2 separate regions of the Homo sapiens genome follow, and region 1 is linked to region 2. Evidence: promoter capture Hi-C in 16 types of primary human blood cells and fetal thymus (Javierre and others, 2016). All regions are on one chromosome and are shown on one strand. The core of a region is centred on a gene start or on the middle of the fragment in contact, and the rest is flanking DNA. Distances in the headings are between cores, read along the strand shown. Region 1 overlaps SPRING1 (SREBF pathway regulator in golgi 1). Region 2 holds the start of HRK (harakiri, BCL2 interacting protein).

What was found. The method cuts DNA at HindIII sites, captures the fragments that hold promoters and counts their contacts. A CHiCAGO score of 5 or more calls a contact.
Region 1: a contact is called between a fragment that was not itself captured here and the fragment with the promoter of HRK in region 2, in 1 of 17 cell types (total B cells). The highest score is 5.4, in total B cells.

Annotation. Positions count from the first base shown.
Region 1 is chr12:116,721,387-116,724,799 of GRCh38, forward strand. SPRING1 (SREBF pathway regulator in golgi 1) reads right to left here. Exons shown (of 5, transcript NM_024738.4): 2 at 1,681-1,837. Among named protein-coding and RNA genes, the nearest start is that of SPRING1, 15 kb to the right of the region's middle. The HindIII fragment of the contact is 1,342 bases long and covers 1,491-2,832 here.
Region 2 is chr12:116,880,032-116,883,866 of GRCh38, forward strand. It overlaps HRK (harakiri, BCL2 interacting protein), which reads right to left and starts at 1,410. Exons shown (of 2, transcript NM_003806.4): 1 at 945-1,410. The coding sequence starts at 1,276. The coding sequence ends at 1,001. RefSeq lists silencers at 1-139, 1,018-1,097 and an enhancer at 1,603-2,564. The HindIII fragment of the contact is 8,246 bases long and covers 1-3,835 here.

The sequences.
Region 1 (3,413 bases), core at 912-3,411, 160 kb before region 2:
CTTCATCCTCAGAGAAGGAGACTTGCTGAAGTATAAGGTTGTTTTCAGAAACTACTTTAGAAAACAAAGTCTGTTCAAAAGCAGGAGGCACCAGTAGAACAACAGTAACAAAGAAACTAAAAGGGCCCTCACTTAAGACTTGGGCAAATGAGGTCTATAGAGAACTGGGTTCCAGATACTTGGGAATCGGTGCCTTTTGTGGTAGTTGTTGTTTATGTTATTCTGTCTTCTAAATTAAGAGAGGATGATTCTAATGCTATAGTAAATGTTTCTTGGGATTCTTCCTATTTCTACTCATTTTCTTTTCAGGGACTAGAAACAAACACAAAATGTAATTAAGTTAGTTAGCATTTTCCTCAAAATTCTGCTCAAAATAATAAACACATAGCAACTGTATATAATGTGACCTAAACTCTGCCAGTTGAAATTCTCTTTCTGCCTTTTACTTTTCATCTTGTAAGTGTCAGCATCTCAGGCATCCTTTTTTTTCCCCACTGCCAACTTACAGTATTCAGCCTTGAAATGCAGCTCTTTCTAGCTTGGTGAAAGCAAGCTCATCAAGAACTCTCATCTTGTATCAGACATCTACTAACTCAAACGTTATCTCCAACAAGGAGTCCTGTAAGATCACAACCTCATACTGTGTTGCTATTGCCTTGAAAATTAACTTCCAGCCTTTGAAAAGTTTGTAAATGCAAATGATCTTATTTAATAATGTGTTACCCCGGCAATATTCACAGTGGCATCTGCTTGCTAAGAAGCGTAAGTTCTTACATGCTTTCTTTACTAAACTACTTACTTCACCCATACTCATGGAGAAAAATAAAACCTATAGCTCTTGGATTTTTATTAATTGATTGATTCCTTCACTCCTGGAATTTTTTACTCAAAGAGTCCAAGAGTCTCTGTCTTACCCAAATTAATCAAAAGAATATTCTTTCACTAGCTATGATAAAAGATGACAAACTGTGCTCACAACCCAGCACTAAAACATTAAAGTGAGAGTGTAAGATTTCATGTTTTCTCACTGAATGTCACACATCCTGTAAGAAGCCCTGAACTCCAAGTCAATGTCTGCCCACTGACTATGTCATCTTATGGAAGTAACTTCCTTTTGCTAAACTTCACTCTGCTTATTAAAAAACAAAACCCACATTATTTTCAATATGATTTGCTTTTTCAATGTGATCTGAAAAATATAGCTTGTCACTGGCATCACTGCTGAGTTGGGAATGCATTCTGGTCAGTCAACAAGTACATTTCTTGAGTGTCAACACAATGTGAATTTTACTCAGGTTACCAAGAAGGAAAACTGAGCTCTTATCCTATAGAGTTCACCCTCGAGATGAGAAAAAAAGATTGGCAAGATGGGGAAATAGTGAGGCTGGGGAGAGATTGTCAGAAGGGGCCTGGGGACTGATGCGTGACACAGTGCTCATGTTGTAAGTTGTAGGCAGAAAGAACTTTTAAGAGTTAGAGTTATCAAAACAAGCTTCTCTGATGTTGAAGGGAACCTTGAATGATGAGTAGGGTATAGAAGACAAAAACCTGGGGAATGTTGGAGATGAGCGAGGAGAGAAAATGTGTTGCAGAGGAATCCCTATTCAAACAAAAACCCTATGAATGGCCCAACCAGCCTACGCTCCTGACCGCCTGGAGAGGAAGGGAAGCCAGCCTCACCGAGTTCATCCGTGATGAGGTGCTTCCCTTGAATGGAGTTGCGGCACTGATTGCTCGGACGACTGCTATTGCCCAAGTTAAACTGCACTTTCCACGGGATGGGCTGATTATGGTCATGAACCTGGAGGAGATTCCTATCTCTCACTGCCCTCTCCTCCTGCAAAGAAACCATAAGTGAGAAGGTTAAGTATCCAGTATCCTTTCTTACAATTTCACCAGTTTTTCACAGAAACTACAGTAAGAGGACAGAAATACTATAAAAGGCTTACACTACCAGAATCTGCCCTCTCCTGGTACAAGCAAAGCCTGAGCCAAAGTCATAAAATAAACCTGTAGGAAAAAGTAATAAGCTAGTGCTATGCTTGAAAACTGGCATACTTACATGCGTGGCTCCTGGATGGCATGCACATCATAAATGTGTATAAAAGTGTTAATTTTATGAAAAAATTGGAGAGGAAAAGTTTTGGACTTTTTCTTTCTGATGGCAAGTAATTTAAAATATTTTTCACATTAAAACAAATACATTGTGGAACAGAACTTAAAATGTGAATACACTTTTTAAAGAGCAGAAGAAACTTTCGTGACTCTCATCTCAGACATCTAGAGCACAAAATCCCTTTCATTTGCAGTTACAGGTACTTTGGGTGGAAGACGTTTGGGAAAACGTGAATTAGGACATTGATTTTAGGAGCAAAATGAAGCATGTCAACTTGTGAATTTCTTCTGTGAAGGACCACTGAGTATGTAACCCGCTACGGAACACACCCAGGCCGGCCAGCCCTCTACCCGGACAAGCAATTGGAAGAGTTGCCCTGGAGTCAAGAGTTGAAGATCATCTCTTCTGGTCTTGAAGCTATGTCCGCTAGGAGCCAGCTTACAAAACTGCCTTTTCTATACTGTTTTCTATACTGTTATAATCTTTTCTATACTGTTAAAAAAAAAACTAAAGAGGAAGCTGCCTAAGTGCTAGAAAACAAGCCGAGCTTGAGACGGCCTCTTCTGAACGCTTCAGTAAGCTACTGGATAATAAAACAATGATGGACTTGAAACATTCACTGTTCTAACGGAGTTCTGTGGCTTTTACCTTTCAAAATAACCTGTCATGTGTTGCTTTTTAAGCAAAAGGGACTAATCTTGAAAATTTGATGAAGAAGCTTATATACTTAAAAAATGGTAAAGATCTTTATCGTTACTAAAATTTATCTAGGAAAGTAATCTAGGAAGTTCTGTTCGTATTTTAAAAATATATGTCTACATACACTTTGGCCCAGGAAACTCAGGTCTGTCCTATGGAAAACACCAATGTATAGGGAAATACAAGGATGTTTACTACATGATCGTTTCGATGGTATAAAAAACCTGAAACCTGCCGGGTGTGGTGGCTCATGCCTGTAATCCCAGCACTTTGGGGAGGCCGAGGCTGGTGGATCACCTAAGGTCAGGAGTTCAAGGTCAGCCTGGCCAACATGGTGAAACCCCATCTCCACTAAAAATACAAAAATTAGCCGGGCGTGGTGGTAGAATTGCATGAACCCAGAAGGTAAAGGTTGCAGTGAGCCGAGATCACACCACTGCACTCCAGCCTGGGTGACAAGAGCAAAACTCCATCTCAAAAACAAACAAACAAAACCCCTGAAACCCCAATAACAGAGAAATGACTGAATGAACACTGGTATAACAATACTGTTACAACCAAACTGAGATACGACTGATAGCTATTTAACTAGAGTAGC
Region 2 (3,835 bases), core at 160-2,659:
AGTGCCAGGCGCACAGCTAGGGCACAATGATCCCCCCACCCCAAGAGCCTAGTACCTTCCTCCCACTGATACCAACCACACTAGGTGCTCAGTACCCACTTCCTGTCCTAAGTTCTCAACACATGACCTCCCTAAACAGTGCCCAGCACCCCGAAGGAGCTCAATAAATGTTCCTTCCTTAAGGCTTCCCATTGGAGTTTCCCTGAAAGCCCCCTATTCCAGCCCACTCCGAGGGCGTCTCCTTCCCGTAGCAGCTACAACCGTCTGGGGAGAAGGAAGCCAAACTCCTTAAACAGGACACCTCACTCGAGAAGGAGCGAAGTTGGCAGGGCAGAGGAAAATTGCAAATGCGCGGAGCTTGGGAAGAAAGATTGGGCCAGCCAGAAACCTGGAGGGGGAGGAAGTCTCGAGATGCGCTTGGGGTGCCAGATAATGGGGATCAGAGATTGGAGAAGTGACACTTAGGGACAAGAGGTTGGGAGCAAAGGTGATGGAGACGGGGGCGACTCAGGAACGGCAAGAGGATTGGAACGGGACCGGGGACCTTTCTTGGAAGTGCGATAGATTTTAAGTATTTGGCGTGGCTTACAACTACATTCCCATAGCAAGCACACTTTTTACTTGCATTGTGTGTTTATTTGTGGGGCTGGTGGGGATTATGGAGGCTGAAGTCCTCCGCAAGCCACTGAGCTATAAGTGAGTAGCAAGATGCGCTTAAGGACTCGCAGAGATGGGGGCAGAAACGGTGGACCTTACACTTGGAAGGGAAGACTGGGGACTGGGTAGAAGAGGAGAGGTGGAGATGCTTGCAAGAGAAGAGAACGGAGGAAGAAGGAGAAGGGAAAAGAAGAAAGCCAAACTTGCCACTCTCCCGCTCCCGGGCCAGCCCAGCGTCTCCAGTGCCCAGCTGCCGCGCCCCGGCTCTCGCTCGCTCGCTCGCGTACCTGTTGCTCGCTCCGGCTGGGTCTCGGCTCCGGCCCCACCAAGAAGCCCCGCGTTCCTACAAGTTCCGCCTGCCGAGCAGCCAGGCCGCCAGCGCCGCCACCTGCGCGGCCGCGCACAGCCAAGGCCAGTAGGTGGGGAGCGCGCCGGGCGCCGGCGCCCTCCGGCTCCGCGCGCGGCGCCGCCACATGGTGCGCTGGTGCAGCTCGTCGCCTAGCGCCTTGAGCCGGGCGGCGGTGAGCTGCGCGGCGGACGAGCGCAGCCCCAGGCGACCCGCGCTGCAGGCGCACACGGCCGGGGGGCCGCGGCCGCGGTGCAGGGGGCACGGGCACATGACCGCTGGCCTCGCTCCCGCCCCGCGCTCGGGCCGCCCCTCGCCTCCTCTCCCTCCGGCCTCTGCGCCCGCTGCCGCCGCGCTCCAGCCGCCGGGGGCCTCCCCTGGACACCAAGTTTCTCCTTGTGTTGTGCGTTTGTTGTGCTGACGGCGCTATTATTAATTAAAGTGTCACATGGTGGAGGGGGGCGGGGAGGGGGGTTACATCATCCGGCCCCCGGGGGTTGGGGGGGGGGCTGCAGGCAGAAGAAACCGAGAGGTAACTTTTAACCCTAGCGGCGCCGGCAGCTAGGGAGCGCGAGGTTTGGGAGACGGGGAGCGCGGCGCGGGGCGGCGCGAGAAGGCTCCCCGCAGCGGAGGTCCTGGGCTTTGGGGGTCTCGGGGGACCCCCGCGGAGGCGCGGAGCGCGAGGGAAGGTTGTTCTCCTTCCCCTTTTCCTGAATTCAGCTCGAGTTCCGATTTGGCGAGGGAAAAAGGCTTGTTTGCCGTTTTGGATGAAGCTGATGCTGAATTCGGCTGCATTATTCAAAAATATTCCGAGGCTGTTGTTTTGTTTGGGGGAGGTGGGTGGATTCAAAATCTTATGGAAGGGTCAGATTACACCCAACTTGCCTCGTTTCAGGTCTGACTTGGCACCTGTAGGCTTTCAGCCTGACCCTAACGTGCCCCCAGCGCCTGGCTAGAAACCTGACCCTAAAGTGCCCCCAGCGCCCGGTGGGAGGCTGGATGGGCCCACCTGAGCTCGCGTGGGGCGCGGACGGAGGCATTCTCGCTGCCCGGCACCCGCACCCAAAAGACCCTCGCAAGGGGCTTTCTAAAGGGAAACTTCTTGTCTGCTTTCTTTGTGAACATTATTTTCCTGATGGCGTTACAGTTTTCTGCGATGACCCCGATTTAATGCGCAGTGGAGACCCTAAGGGGTCGGCGAGAGGAGGGGCGCGGGGGACTTTAATTCCCCCTTTTCCAATCCGACAGCCACTCCTGTGCACCTCCAGACTGGAGCGTCTGCAGTTGTCACAAACGGTGAAGGTTCAGATGGGCTGGGCGGCTGTCAGGATTCTGTGGGGGAGAATGAAACCTGTGATCTTAAATCGACTGGGATTCAGACAACTTTGGGATTCAGACCATCGGGATGAGTCCAGAGATGGCTCCAAGTTGGGAGTCTGGAACCTGCTGAGGGAGCTTCCGTTCTTGCCTTCCCACCGCAGAGTATAACCAAGATTCTTCGAGTCTGTGAACTTAGTTTTGGTCTGAATTGATCAGGAGGAGAAATGTCCCTTTTGGCCCACAGCGTGGTGAAATGACAACAAAGTCAGGGCTCAAAGCCCACAACACTGTGTGATTCTGGTGGCCTTTTCCCTCACCCAGCTCCAATTATTCTAGGCTTCATAATGGCCAAGACCTACTGCGCATCTTCTATGTCTGGCACCTGTGGGCTTTGGGCGCCCTTGCCTCTGCTGCCTAAAGGTAAATCTCCCAACAATTCTACATGCAATTACTATAATATTTCAAAGATGAGGAAGCTGAGGCACAGGTAGGTAAGGGTTCTTGCCCTAGCTCACAGAGTAGCTAAGAATGAAACCGTCATCTGAACTAGGGCAGTATGCCGCAGGCTCTAAGCTCTTAACCACGGTTTTATACTGCCCCCTGTAATCTGGGAATAATAATACCTCCATCCCAGGATTGGGGCAGAGATTAAATGAGAGAAATGTGTGCCAAGCACCTGGCACGCAGTGGGCCCTGGATAGACCTTGGTTCCCTTTGCTTCTCGCCAGAACCACTTCCCATTCTCCTGGGACTCACCTCCTTAATCCCCCTAGTCTTTACAGAGGGGACCTGATCCATTGCCCGGGTGTAGCGTTCCAAGAATGAAGACACAGTGTCTATTTAAAAAGCCCTTTGGATTTAAATTGAACAATTCCCTCCCCCCATTTTTAATCTGCACGCTTTTAACGGCTCACTTCATGGACATTAATTTTAATGGGACGATTATTACCCTGTTTGGAAGCCTGCCCCTCGAAATGCTGGGCTCGCAAGGTGGCGCTGGGTCGGGTCCCAGCAGCTTGGATGTTGTCTGTAGAAGAGGGGGTGCAATCTTGGCCGTGGGGATGCAACGTTCAGCAGAGGGGGAAGAGAAGGGGGTGATGAAAAAGTGGGAGAGAAGGAAGGACCTCTCTCTCCCTGACACTCTTAAGTCTGGCAGTCCTTAATTTGCACACATGAGTTATCCTGTGCTATTGGACCACTTACTAACTGGGGAGCATGGCCTTGAGAGGTGGCTTTTTGGAGCCTCCATTCTCTCAACTGTAAAGTGGGAATAATAATAGTACCCACCTCCCAGCCTAAATACCAGGAAAGCCCTTACTTAGCACAGTGCCTCCTGGCCCATCATTAGGTTTTTTGTTTTTTGTTTGTTTGTTTGTTTGTTTTTTAGACAGAGTCTTGCTCTGTCACCAGGCTGGAGTGCAGTGGCACGATCTTGGCTCACAGCAACCTCCACCTCCAGGTTCAAGCGATTCTCCCGCCTTGGCCTCCCCAGTAGCTGGGAGTACAGACACC